Linked DNA regions of Homo sapiens: all the other regions are linked to region 3. The links are contacts of gene promoters, found by promoter capture Hi-C in blood cells and fetal thymus (Javierre and others, 2016). All regions are on one chromosome and are shown on one strand. Each heading gives the region's core, a stretch centred on a gene start or on the middle of the fragment in contact. The rest is flanking DNA. Distances are from core to core; before and after follow the strand shown. Region 1 has its middle 5.6 kb from the start of ZNF843. Region 2 has its middle 12 kb from the start of ITGAM. Region 3 holds the start of KRABD5 (KRAB domain containing 5). Region 4 holds the start of ITGAX (integrin subunit alpha X). Region 5 overlaps ITGAM (integrin subunit alpha M).

Evidence for each region. Contacts are between HindIII fragments. The CHiCAGO score rates a contact against its expected background, and 5 or more counts as called.
Region 1: a contact is called between a fragment that was not itself captured here and the fragment with the promoter of KRABD5 in region 3, in 3 of 17 cell types (erythroblasts, non-activated CD4 T cells and megakaryocytes). The highest score is 5.9, in erythroblasts.
Region 2: a fragment that was not itself captured here is called in contact with the fragment with the promoter of KRABD5 in region 3 in 1 of 17 cell types (erythroblasts); the score reaches 6.0 in erythroblasts.
Region 4: the fragment with the promoter of ITGAX here is called in contact with the fragment with the promoter of KRABD5 in region 3 in 1 of 17 cell types (erythroblasts); the score reaches 6.5 in erythroblasts.
Region 5: a contact is called between a fragment that was not itself captured here and the fragment with the promoter of KRABD5 in region 3, in 1 of 17 cell types (erythroblasts). The highest score is 6.9, in erythroblasts.

The regions. Positions count from the first base shown.
Region 1 is chr16:31,446,981-31,449,708 of GRCh38, reverse strand. No RefSeq gene overlaps it. Among named protein-coding and RNA genes, the nearest start is that of ZNF843, 5.6 kb to the right of the region's middle. The HindIII fragment of the contact is 6,267 bases long and covers 1-2,728 here.
Region 2 is chr16:31,246,248-31,248,947 of GRCh38, reverse strand. No RefSeq gene overlaps it. Among named protein-coding and RNA genes, the nearest start is that of ITGAM, 12 kb to the left of the region's middle. RefSeq lists an enhancer at 2,552-2,700. The HindIII fragment of the contact is 1,342 bases long and covers 663-2,004 here.
Region 3 is chr16:31,711,923-31,714,622 of GRCh38, reverse strand. It overlaps KRABD5 (KRAB domain containing 5), which reads right to left and starts at 1,379. Exons shown (of 5, transcript NM_001130913.2): 1 at 1,188-1,379. The coding sequence starts at 1,190. RefSeq lists a silencer at 943-1,002 and an enhancer at 1,093-1,212. The HindIII fragment of the contact is 15,701 bases long and covers 1-2,700 here.
Region 4 is chr16:31,353,914-31,356,613 of GRCh38, reverse strand. ITGAX (integrin subunit alpha X) reads right to left here and starts at 1,438. Exons shown (of 30, transcript NM_000887.5): 1 at 1,323-1,438; 2 at 616-721. The coding sequence starts at 1,359. RefSeq lists enhancers at 1,667-1,856, 2,047-2,176. The HindIII fragment of the contact is 18,983 bases long and covers 1-2,700 here.
Region 5 is chr16:31,331,282-31,333,981 of GRCh38, reverse strand. ITGAM (integrin subunit alpha M) reads right to left here. Exons shown (of 30, transcript NM_000632.4): 30 at 1,105-2,346. The coding sequence ends at 2,275. Among named protein-coding and RNA genes, the nearest start is that of ITGAX, 23 kb to the left of the region's middle. RefSeq lists a silencer at 2,425-2,504. The HindIII fragment of the contact is 184 bases long and covers 1,354-1,537 here.

The sequences.
Region 1 (2,728 bases), core at 128-2,627, 260 kb after region 3:
GTCCCTGTCTTCAAATACAGTCACACTGGGGGTTAAACAATGTATAAATTTGGGGGCGATACAAACATTCAGTCCATAACACCCCCTATACCCCAACCCTAGGCAACCACTAATCTACATCTTATCTCTACAGATGACCTATTCTGGACATGTCATATAAATGGAATCATACAATGTGTGGTCATTCGTGTCTGGCTTCTTTCATATAGCATAATGTTATCAAGGTTCATCCACACTGTAGTATCTCATTTCTTTTTATTAGGAATAATACAGTTTCACTTTATGGATTGCTGTGGTTTGAACCTGTCCCCTAAAGTTCATGTGTTGGAAACTTAACCTCCAATTCAACTGTTGAGAGGTGGGAACTTTAAGAAGTGATTAGGTTATGTGAGCTCTTCCCTCATGAATGGATTAATGGCATTATTGCATGAGTAGGTTAGTTATCAAGGGAGTGGACAGCTGATAGATAAATGGATGGGTTCTGCCCCCACCCACCCCCTCTCTTGCACTGTCTTGCCCTTCCGCTTTCTGCTGTGGGATGAGGCAGAAAGAAGGCCCTCACCAGATGCAGGGCCCTTGACCTTCGACTTCCCAACCTCTAGAACTGAAAGAAAGATATTTCTATTCTTTATAAATTATCCAGCCTTAGGCATTCTACGATGCAGCACAAAACAGACTAAGACATGGATATGCCACTTTCTTCAATCATCAGTTGACAGACATTTGGGTTGTTTCCACTCGGGCTATTATGAATAATGCTGCTATGAATACTCACGTACAAGGTTTTTGTGGAATATGCTTTTATTTCTTTTGGTTACATATCTAGAAGGGAAATTGCTGGATCATATAACTCTATGTTTAAACATCTGAGGAACTGCCAGACCATTTTCCAAAGTTAATGAATGATTTTACGTTCCAACCAGCCATGTGTGAGGGTTCCAATCTCTCCACATTCTCACAAAAACTTGTTAATTAACTGTCTTTTCAGCTTTTTTTTTTTTGAGTCGGAATCTCACTCTGTCACCAGGCTGGAGTGCAGTGGCGTGATCTCAGCTCACTGCAACCTACGCCTCCCAGGTTCAAGTGATTCTCCTGCCTCAGCCTCCCAAGTGACTGGGATTATAGGCGCCTGTCACCACGCCCAGCAAATGTTTGTATTTTTAGTAGAGACAGGGTTTCACCAAGTTGGCCAGGCTGGTCTCAAACTCCTGAGCTCAGGTGATCCGCCCACCTCGGCCTCCCAAAGTGCTGGGATTACAAGTGTGAGCCACTGCCTGTAAATATTATCATTTAAAAAATATCATTTTTAAAAATATTATTTAAAAAAAAAATTTTAATGTTTTTTAAATATTATTTTTAAAAATAATAATAATGTTATTATTATTTGAGATAGAGTCTCCATCTGTTTCCCAGGCTGGAGTGCAGTGGCGTGATCTCAGCTCACTTCAGCCTTCACCTGCCAGGTTCAAGTGATTCTCCTGCCTCAGCCTCCTGAGTAGCTGGGACTACAGGCACCCGCCACCATGCCTGGCTAATTTTTTGTGTGTTTTTAGTACAGACTAGGTTTCACCATGTTCACCAGGCTGGTCTCGAACTCCTGAGCCCAGGTGATTCGCCCACCTCAGCCTCTCAAAGTGATGGGATTACAGGCATGAGCCGCCACTACTGGCGTAATTACCTGTCTTTTTTATTATCACCATCCTAATATGTATGATGTGGCACCTCGTTGTAGTTTTGATTTGCATTTTTCTGAGGACTAATGATGTTGAGGATCTTTTCATGTAATTATTGGCCATTTATATAACTTCTTTGAACTGTCTATTCAAGTCATTTGCCCATTTAATTTTTTTTCTTTTTCTTTCTTTTTCTTGAGACAAGGACTCCTCTGTTGCCCAGGAGTGCAGTGGCACAATTTCGGCTTACTGCAGCCTCCACCTCCATGGTTCAAGTGATTCTCAGCCTTCCGAGTAGCTGGGACTAGAGGTGCAGGCCACCACACTCGACTGATTTCTTTCTTTCTTTCCTTTTTTTGTTTTTTGAGACTGAGTCTTGCTCTCTCGCCTAGGCTGGAGTGCAGTGGCGTGATCTCTTCTCACTGTGACCTCTGCCTCCCGGGTTCAAGTGATTCTCCTGTCTCAGCCTCCCGAGTAGCTGGGATTACAGGCACATGCCACCATGCCTGGCTAATTTTTGTACTTTTAGTAGAGACAGGGTTTCACCATGTTGTCCAGACTGTTCTCAAACTCCTGACCTCAGGTGATCCGCCCACCTCAGCCTCCCAAAGTGCTGGGATTACAGGCGTGAGCCACCGTGCCCAGCCTAATTCCATTTTTAAATTGGATTATTTGTCTTTTTTATCATTGAGTTGCAATAGTTCTTTATACAGTCTAGGTACAAATCCCTTCCCAGATATATGATTAGCAAAGATTTTTACCTGCTCTGTGGGTTATCTTCTCCTTTTCTTTTTTATCTTCTCTTTTTCTTAATAATGTCCTGTGAATCTCCCTGACGTCTGGGTATTTGGAAAGAAAAAGAAAAAAATTAAAGAATAATGTCATATGAAGCGCAAGAGGTTTCAATTTTGATGGTGTTCAGTTTCTGTATTTTTTTCTTTTGTTGCTTGTGCTTTTGGTGTCATATCTAAGAAAGCATTGCTTAATTCAAAGTTATAAAGATTCTAAGAGTCCTAACTTTTAGTTCTATGATTCAATTTGAGTTAACTTTTATA
Region 2 (2,700 bases), core at 84-2,583, 470 kb after region 3:
TGCCCATCTTTCCACTAGACTCTTCATTCAACAGGTATTAACTATGTGCCAGGTGCTGCTCCAGGCTCAGGGAAATGGATGTGAACGAGAGAGGAAACCTCCCTACCTTTAAGGAGCTTACGTTCTTGGGGGGTGATAAACAATGGCTGCCTTGAGAGCAGTGACTATGTCCTGCTCATGGCTTTATCCCAGGACCCAGCACCTTATCTGGCTGGGGCTCACTGAGTGTTGCTTAGATGAACCACATCACAATTGAGTTTGTGTGGACACTTGTGGTTATCTCCCCAGCATCCAGTTTCCCCCTTCCCAGCGACTCTCAATTTCCACTTGGAGGACTACGTGGTTTGGGAAGAACTGACTTTGCCCCAGGTCTGAGGGTGGAGCATGTGAACTACACTAAGACAATCCAACTATTCTATCGCTCTGACATAAGTCGTTGGTTCAAGTGTGGGCATGTGTCTAATCAAAGTGGATCTCAGGACAAAGATGTTTTTTCTCCTCCTAGTGTGATGTAAAACCTGGAACCACTGCAGCTATTTTTGCTACTGTGGTGCTGGGATTACAGATGTGAGCCACTGCACCCGGCCAAAAATTTTTTTAAATTTAAGAAAAGAAATCAAGGGAGATAAGAAATGATTACTGTTGTTTTAAGCCTCTAAGCTTAGGGTCATTTGTCATGCAGTTTCAGATAATTATTAGGTGGGTGCAAATGTAACTAAAGTAATTAAAGTCATGGCCAAAACCGCAATTACGTTTGCATCAAACTAATAGTACAATTGACTATTGGGTGTGTCTGGAATACCATCCTTCTGCTTCTTTTTGTTTTCCTTAGAAACTCCTACTTGCTCTCCAAGGGCCAACTCAAGTTGTCACCTCTTCTGAGAAGCCTGCCCTAATTTTCCTGCTTAACCCCAAGCTCTGTTACACACAGCTCTATTAGCAGTCCTCACACTGTGATCTTATTGTTTATGAGGTTATTTCTCTCACTATAGCTTTTTGAAGGCAACAATTTTGAATTATCCAAATGCATACGCCTAAGACTGAGCATGGTATGTGCTACATTAAAAAGGAGTTTGATGAAGTTTGGTTGAATAAATAAATAATGGAAACTTCAGCTGTGGACAAGACAAAGAATGCTGGCGGGGTGCGGTGGCTCACGCCTGTAATCCCAGCACTTTGGGACGCCAAGGCGGGCGGATCACAAGATCAAGAGATCAAGACCATCCTGGCCAACATGGTGAAACCCCATCTCTACTAAAAAATACAAAAATTAGCCGGGCATGGTGGCGAGCACCTGTAGTCCCAGCTACTCGGGAGGCTGAGGCAGGAGAATCACTTGAACCCAGAAGGCGGAGGTTGCAGTGAGCTGAGATCATGTCACTGCACTCCAGCCTGGGGGACAAAGCAAGACTCCGTAAAAAAAAAAAAAAAAAAAGAGAGAGAGCGCGCACAAATTCAGATGTAGTTATAGACATGCAAATTAACTGGTTGATGTGAACGACACAGCTAATAAGGTAGCATTAATAGATGTATGTCATGCCTGTAGTGCCAGCTACTTGGAGGGTCAAGGGCAGGAGGATGGCTTGAGCTTAGGAGTTCAAGGCTGCAGTGAGCTATGATGTACTGCACTCCTGCACTCCAGCCTGGGCAACAGAGCAAGATCCTGTCTTTAAAAAAAAAGATGAATAGGCTGTGTGTGGGTGTGTGGTGGCTCACGCCTGTAATCCCAGCACTTTGGGAGGCCAGGGAGGATGGATCACTTGAGGCCAGGAGTTTGAGACCAGCCTGGCCAACATGGCAAAACCCCATCTCCACTAAAAATACAAAAATTAGCCAGGCATAGTAGCACATGCCTTTAAGTAATCCCAGCTACTTGGGAGGCTGAGGCATTAGAATCGCTTGAGCCTGGGAGGCAGAGGTTTCTGTGAGCCGAGATCGCACCACTGCACTCCAGCCTGGGCGACAGAGCAACACTCTGTCTCAAAAAAATAAATAAATAAAGCTTTTTAAGCACTAAAACTCATTTCACAAATACCATTCCAATTTCATGCCACAGAAAGGCAGAAATGATACATACCACATCCCTGATTAAGGTAAAATCAGAAATGATAGATTAAGGTAAAAACAGAAAATACTGAAAATATAACTAAAAGTGCCTAATTCTTGAAAATTGAAAATGTAGAACAAATAGTCAATACATACTATAATGACATACTGTATTTTACAATAATAATAATAATACATAATAAAAACTGACACTGATTGAGAATTTACTCTGTGCCAGACATGGTTCTAAGTGATTAGCATGTGTTCACTCACTGACCCTTCATAGAAATCCTATGAAGAAGGTATTCTAGCCCCATTTTGCAGATGAAGAAACTGAGGCACATGGAAGTTATGTAACCAGGCTGGGTGCAGTGGCTCACACTGGGACTTTGCGGGGCTGAGGTGGGAGGATCACTTGAAGCTAGGAGTTCAAGACCGATAATATAGCAAGACCTCTTCTGTTGTGGGAAGCCCGGAACCCCTAATGGAGGGACCAGCTGAAGCCATGGCAGAAGAACATAAATTGTGAAGATTTCATGGACATTTATTAGTTTCCCAAATTAATACTTTCATAATTTCTTATGCCTGTCTTTACTGCAATCTCTGAACATAAATTGTGAAGATTTCATGGACACATATCACTTCCCCAATCAA
Region 3 (2,700 bases), core at 130-2,629:
CCTAGTCAGGGTTATTCCACACACCCGCTTCTCAATTCGCAGGCTCTCTCTTTCAGGTCCATCGAGGTGGGGTGCCTTCTTCCCATCTCATCAGCTCTCCACAAGCATCTAGCGAGCTCTAAAACCTACCCCAGGATAGCAAACGTCAGACCTTCCTCCACTCTCCTGGCACTGCACGCCTTCTGGGGAGTGCTGCCAATCCTACCTCAACTGAAGGGACAGGAGCAGGTGCCCAGCCAGTCAGATGTTCAGTGACCTAACAGGTTTCAGGAAAATAGCAAAATCACTCAAAACAGTTTTTATAGAAAGGAAGGAAACTGTAAGGCACTTACACTTTATACTTCAACAGGTAAGGCCAAAATACCTCTTTCGAGCAAGAAACATGTCATTTAATTATTTCCATAATAGCAGATCATTTAGTATATGTGAACACTTCTAGGAGGTGCCAAGTCCTGTCTCATAACATTTGGCATTAAAGTCGGACATCCAGATAGCAGTAGAATATGGAACACAGATATCCACTGTCACAAATCCTCCACTGCAAAAGAGAGGACCTGATATTTTAATGAATGTTTGTAATTGACCAATTAATCTAGCACACTTTCTGTGGAAATGTATTCGTTTTCTACAGCCAAAGTGGAAGAGAGATTGTCCCTATTTCTTTTCCCCAGCAGCATTCCTAAGCTGAGCCCTGGGATTTTGAAATCGCTGCTCCAGAGGACCCTAAACCACAAACCACGGCGGCAGGCTTCCCATTTCACCAATCGCTGTTTACCTAAATCAACCCTTTAACGCTTTAAGGGTGACTCCCCTTAATTTGTAAGAGGAAAAAGGAGACTGGGACACCACGGGGCACAGTATCTTCCCACACACGAATCACACGCCGACCCGGGATTTCCCCTAAGACCCTCACGTTCTCACCGCACAATCTCGGGAGACGCCGGGCTGCGGCGACCCAAAGACGGCTCCGGCCATGGCAGAGGTCGCTCTGCGGGGTCGGGAGGGGACCGGACGCGCGGGGTCCCGGCTGCCGGCCCGGCCGCCATCTTGCGGCGGAGGGGACCAAGGGCCGAGTTGCGTCCGCGGGGACTCAGGGCCCAGACCCCGAAGCTAACCTCAAAGAGGGTTCCCGCCGCTTCCGACCGCCCCTCTCCCTCTTCTGGGGACCCCCGACCTGGCACATTCACCATTTCCCAGCTTCCGGGATGTCCTGGCGTCTGAGCTACGGATCTCCCGGTGCCTGCCGGTCACAGAGTAACAGAGGTTCTGTCTATTCTCAGAACGCGAAGCCGCCTTGGCCTCCCAGATGGAAGGACTGGGAGCCCCTGGTGAAGAGACTGAGCTCTTACTGCAGCCAACAAAGGCCACCGCCAAATCCCGGAAGCCGCCCCTGCTCTCCGGCTACTCCCGATTGGAGGATTTCCACTCCGACGCCACTGATTGGGTAAAGCTCCAGGCCCCGCCCTCTCACTCGTTCTGCTTTTTGAATGGGAGACAGGCTCATTGAGGTGGGGCCACCTGCTGAGGGTATTACAGCTAATTTAAGGGGTGAGCTTGGACTTGAAATGCACTTGCTTTCCCGTACCTGGTTTTGCTTGTATAAGGCATCTTATTAGCTAATTAAGTTTAAGAAGGAGGGCATTTGGGCACCTTTAAAACAACTTTTTAACCGTTCTAATAACACAGGAAAGACCCTCATCCCATCCTTAGCACCTCTCATCACACGGTACCCCACTGCTCAGGACATAACTGTGGGACTGCAGAGGAAACTGCTGGGGTTTTTGGGGAGCATGCAGGAGGCTTCAACAGCCAAGGTAACGGTGGCTTCCCTTGGGTGTCACTTAAAATCTTGGGGTCAGGGACATCTTTTATCCAGTTGGCTCAGGGAAACTAACAGACAGGAGGATTGTAATTTTTTTTTTCTTTTCTGAATTTCCAAGACATAAAGGACTATCCAAGCATCCCAAAAGGCATTCAATTATACATAAGGCTGAGGGCCTCCCTGCTCTGGAGAGGGATGGCCTGGCAGCCACCAGCTGCAGTGAGCTGAGATAGTGCCACTGCAATGGGCCTTAAACTTGCCCTCTTGTAGACAGGCCACCTCCACACACCCGCTTCTCACATCGCAGGCTCTAACCCTCCGGTCCATCAAGGTGGGCTGCCTTCTTCCCATGTCATTAGCTCTCCACAAGCATCTAGTTAGCTCTAAAACCTACCACAGGATAGCAAACGTCAGACCCTCCTCCACTCTCCCGGCACTGCACGCCTTCTGGGGAGTGCTGCCAATCCCACCTCAACTGAAGGGACAAATCTGGGCAGGTGCCCAGTCAGATGTTCAGTGACCTAACAGGTCCAGCATGCCCAGGGCCTGACCCCACAGCCTAGCACCCCTCCCCCACCTGGCCTTCAATCCAGCCTTTCTTCTCCAATGACGGGATGTTCACCTGTGCCACAATCCCATTAGTCTAGTGACGAGGCCAGGTAAATCCCAGCTGAGTGCCTGTGACTCCACCCTCTTACTTCCCACTCAGGTGACATTACAAGCATAACCTTGAATTTGAGCTAATTTATACATATTCCTCTCCTAGTAACCTGTTTGACAACAGCCCTCACAATCCAGAGACTGGGGCAGCAGGTTCCAAAACCTCACTTTATTCCAATGTGAAATGAAGACATGATGGTTTAAAAATGAGAAAAAGT
Region 4 (2,700 bases), core at 189-2,688, 360 kb after region 3:
CAAAGAACACTTTAGGTAAGAGTGTGGACGCTGCAGCACAGCTGCCACTCCGGCAAGTTTGCGTTCCCTCCCTGAGCCTCAGCTTCCTCATCTGCAAGATGGATTTTAATAATTTAAAGTCCATGTGGAAGGGATTTCTGTCTGTTGGATTCTCTGGCGTATGGAGACAAGAAATATTTGTTGAGTCTGGGTGTGGTGGCTCACACCTGGAATCCCAGCACTTTGGGAGGCTGAGGCGGGAGGATTGCTTGAGCCCAGGAGTTTGAGACCAACCCAGGCAACATAGTGAGACCCTGTCTCTATATATTTTTAAATGTATAGAAAAAAAGAAAGAAAAAACAAATAAGTGTTTGTTGCACGACTGATTCCTACTCACAGGCTGTCGTGTGGACTAAATCAGCATCCACCTGTGATGAGCCTGGCACTGCACTTACTGCTCTGTAAATGTTAGCTGTGAGACCGTGCCTGCCTTCAAGGCAAATCTTCATTAGCCAGGGCAGTCGCTACACCAGACAGAGAGGAGAGTTTGCAAATAACAGGGCAGGGCCGGGGGCATGGGGCCCTGAGCAGGGAGAGGATGGATGGAGCCAAAGGCCAGCACCACCTGGGCCTCACCAGGAGTTGGCATACTGGACCACGCTGTCTCCAAACCCAGCGCTGTCCACACGGAAGGCTGTCAGCTCCTCTGTGTCCAAGTTGAAACCTAGAGAAGTTGCTAAGGCTGGGAAAGAGGTGGGAAGAGAGCTTTGGAGAAGGGTCTTCCTTCTGCCTGGCTGCCCTCCACCCCCGGCCCCAGCGTCCCAATCTCCCCTCCGAGCCTGATGCCCGGGGTGCCTGGGTCTTCTGGACACCCAACTCATCCCCTTCTCTCCTTCCCAGGGTCCAGGGATGCCCCTTGCCCACCATCCACTATCGAGTTGCAGTTCTCCATTTCTGCAGAGCAGTACCCAGGCTCTAAAAAGGATCTTTCCCCAACGTGCACCTCGGGCGCTATGAGAGTGAGTCCAGGAAAACTTGCGGACCAAAGCATCCTGTCCACAGAGCACAAGTTGGCGCATTCTGCCTATTTTAAAAATCTCTGCAGTACAGAGACAACTGGCCTCTCTTCCAGCATCTCTGGAACTCTCCCAAAATTGGTTCATCAATATCCTCTCCCTCCACAAACTCCAAATCTCAGACCCTATGTGCCTGCCTCCCCCTCAGGCTTGACTGAGTCTCTCTTCCTACCCAGATCCTAACCCCCCAGCCTGAGCCCCCAGTTCAGGGCCCTGGCTCCCTTGGGCCTGGGTCCCCAGCCCTACTTCATTGGGGTCCAGGCTCACCTGTGAACAGGAGGAGTGCTGCCCTGGTCCTGGTCATGACTAGAAGGTCAGATGTGGAGCTCTGAGCTCCTGGGCCGTTGCAGGAAGAGCTGGACCAAGGTACTGAGGAAGCAAGTGGGCAGAGAGGTGGCCAGGGGAAGGAAGAAGATTGTCAGCATGAGTCAGAGGGGGCGGGCAGAGTACGCAACTGATCCGAGGACAGGCTCGGCCTCCCACACGCCCCCACCCCCCAACCGGAGTCACTCTCATCAGATGACTTGGCTTGATGCCCTTTGCTTAGATGGATGCAAATCCCTGCCCTGCCCCTCCCAGGCTCACCCTTGACTGCCAGAAGGCACCCCTTGACCTTGAAATTTCAGCCAGACTGGAGGGGGTTTGGGCAGATGCCAACCCCTCAGGACCCTAAAGGAAACCCTGGTGGGAGCCCTCCACTCTGACCTGGAAAGTCTGGGCCAAGGAGTGGGGCATCCGGGTCCCTAGGAGGAGCACAGAGCGAGTATTTGTTCATTCATTCATTCACTCATTTATTCATCATTTATTCAAGAAGCCTAATTTGAGCCTGGAGATGCAAGCCCTCTGCTAGGTGGGGAAGAAAATATAAACCACAAAGCACCAGCCCTGGGGTCAGTGGAGAGGCAGATGTATAAACAGCAAGTTCATTGCTGTGAGGGGGAAGCACAGAGACCACAGGGTGCCTCACCCGGGTTGTGAAGGTGTGGCTTTCTGAGAAGGCTTCCTGAAAGAGGTGGTGCTTGAGCTGAGCATTGAAAGCAACCAAAGTTGGGAGATGACAGAGCAGCCAGACATGGATGAGGCAGGGGACAGGAGGGTCTGTGTGTGAAATCAGCAATGGGAACCAGACAGTCAGGGTGGGAAGTTGTAAGAGACAAGGTCAGGGCCACTGGGAGGAAAGCAAGGGGAAGCAGGCCTCAGGCCGTGGAAGCCCCCCTAATGTACATCAATTTTTTTTTTTAATTTCAGAAACAGGGTCTTGCTCTGCCACCCAGGCTGGAGTGCAGTGGGTGCATAGTTCACTGCTGCTTCGAACTCCTGGGCCCAAGGGATCCTCCTGCCTCAGCCTCCTGAGTAGCCAGGACTATAGGATTGCACCACTGCACCTGAATATATATATATATTTATATATATATATTTTTTAATTTTAGTAGAGACAGAGTTTCCCCATGTTGGCCAGGCTGGTCTCAAACTCCTGATCTCAATCAATCCTCCTGCCTCAGCCTCCTAAATTGCTGGGATCACAGGTGTGAGCCACCACACCTGGTGAAGACACATTGATTTTGTCCTGAGAGTGGAGGACAGCATTGAAGGGAATTCATGGGGACTGAGATCTTCACATTTTCATTTTAGAAAGTGGGTTATA
Region 5 (2,700 bases), core at 196-2,695, 380 kb after region 3:
TGCCCTGACCTGAACCAAAGGCACCGTGTCAGGGGCTGTGTTCACCTGTCAAACATCCAGCCAGCAGCACTGGTATCACTTTCTCTGGCCACTAGAGCCCACTCTCCTCACACTCAGGGCAGGCCAGAAGTGGTAGGAAATTAACACACTCTCCCCACCAAGAGCAGCCCTCATCCAATAGCTAAGTGGAATCGGTGTCTATGCGCTCCAGCCTTCTCCCCTGGGTGGGGTGATACTGAGGTGCGTGTTCTGCACTGCCTCCGAGAACTGCCCAGTGGGGTGAAGCTCCAGGAACTCACAGCAGCTTCTCTGTGGGTGATACACCTGTTATTGGCAGCCTTCCCTTCCTCGGTATTTCCTGGAGCCATCTCTTTATTTTATTTTATTTTATTTATTTTTTTTTTTTTAAGATGGAGTCCTGCTCTGTCGCCCAGGCTGGAGTGCAGTGATGCAATCATATCTCACTGCAACCTCTACCTCCCAGGTTAAAGCAATTCTCCTTCCTCAGCCTCCCAAGTAGCTGAGATTACAGTTGCCTGCCACCATGCATGGCTAATTTTTTTGTATTTTTAGTAGAGACGGGGTTTCACCAAGTTCGACAGGCTGGTCTCAAACTCCTGAGATCAGGTGATCCACCAGCCTCGGCCTCCCAAAGTTCTGGGATTACAGAGGCGTGAGCCACTGTGCCCGACCTTTATTTTATTATTTTGTTTATTTTTGAGACAGGATCTCACTCTGTCACCCAGGCTGGAGTGCAGTGGTGCGATCATGGCTCACTGCAGTCTAGACCTTCTGGGCTCAAGTAATCCTCCTGCATCAGCCTCCGGAGTAGCTGTGACTACAGGCATGTAACACCAGGCCTGGCTAAATTTTTTTAATTTTTCGTGGACACAGGTTCTCACTATGTTGCCCAGGCTAGTCTCGAACTCCTGAGCTCAAGCAATCTTCACACCTTCACCTCCCAAAATGCTGGGATTTCAGGTGTGAGCCACCATGCCTGGCCTGCCACCTCTTAAATACGCTTGTTTCACCCAAATTCTTGGGTTTGCTTCTGGGAGAACCCAAACTTCCAGGAACATATCCTATAAATTATCCTTACATATATGCAAAAATGACATATATTTGATTTATTAACTCAGCATTGATGCAATAACAAGAGAATGAAAATAGTATATCAAAAGAAGACTGGTTAAATACATTATGGTACACTCACACAATGGAATACTATGCAGCGGTATAAAAGAATGAAAAAGTAATTTATGTCTTAATATGAACCGATGTCTGAGAAATATTGGTGAAAAAAAGCAAGATACAGACCAATATAAAGTATGCTACCATTTGTGTAAAAAAGCTTGTGTGTGTGTATGTGTGGTGTGTGTGCACACGTGCATACACTTGCACATCGCCTGGAATCTGTCTGAAGGAAACCTCAAAACACAATCTTGACTACCTTTAAGGAGGTGACTTGAATATCTGGAAAGGGAGACTTTTCACTGTACACTTGAATGCCTTGTGATTTTTGTACCATAGACAAGCTTATCCATCCAAAAAATTAAAGTCACATTGAAATAATAAATGAATCCAGAAAGGAAGCTTCATCATTCCTCAGTGGGCATCTTTATTGGGCATCAGCGCTGGTGTGGAGGAGGTTCCTGGTTCCACCCACGGCTTCTCATGGAGTCTCCATCCAAGCTGCGCAGGCTCCAGCAGGCCGCAGGCTCGCAGGCGACGGGAAGTCCCACTTCTTTCAGTGGAGAGAAGCTGCTGTGTTTCCCTCTGTCTTCACCCACAGGATTGACCGTCCCCTCTCCCGGAGGAAAACCCAGCAGCGGCTTCACCCACGCACAAGGGAGCCCAGGCAGTTCCCTTCTGCCGGAGAGGCTACGCTGCCGTCACCTACCCACACGCCAGAGACATCTGAGTCACACACGTGAGCCACACGCCCCTGAGCACACACATGCACACACTCGCACACATGCACACACTTGCACACACATGGACACACGCACACACACTTGGACACACTCACATACTTGCACACACTCACACATGGGCGTGCAAGTGCACATGCACGCACACGCACACATGTGCACACACTTGCACACAGACACTTGCACACACGCACATACACACTTGCACACACACAAATGGAAGCCCAAGCCCGTCCTGTCGGGGATACTTCGCTGTCCGACGTGTCCAGCAGCCTGGGGGCTACGTGTGGTCTGGGCAGAGTCCTGCTGGCCACCGAGAGGCAGCTCTGTCGGGAAGGAGCCGCTACTGGGGTTCGGCCCCCGGGGGACCCCCTTCACTCATCATGTCCTTGTATTGCCGCTTGAAGAAGCCGAGCTGCGGGGCAGAGGAGGGCAGTGAGAGCGACAGCAGCCAGGGAGCGTGCGGCTCCGCAGACCAGGGGGAGGGGGCGGGAGGGCCGGCAGAGACAGAAGGGACCCAGGAGGGCGGGGCGGGAGGGGAGTGACATCCGCGTCGGGGCCTGGAGAAAAACAGAAACTACAAGGAGGGCGACTCGTTCTCAGCGCGCCCCGCGCATGAACCCGGCCACCCTCCCTAAGAGACTGAGGCGCAGAGAGGCTCCCAGACTCGCCCCAGTCACACAGCTGGCAGCCCCGCCGGGGAAACCGAGGCACGGAGCTGCAGCGCGAGGCCCGAGAGGATGAAGGGAGGGGGTGGGGGAGCAGCGGG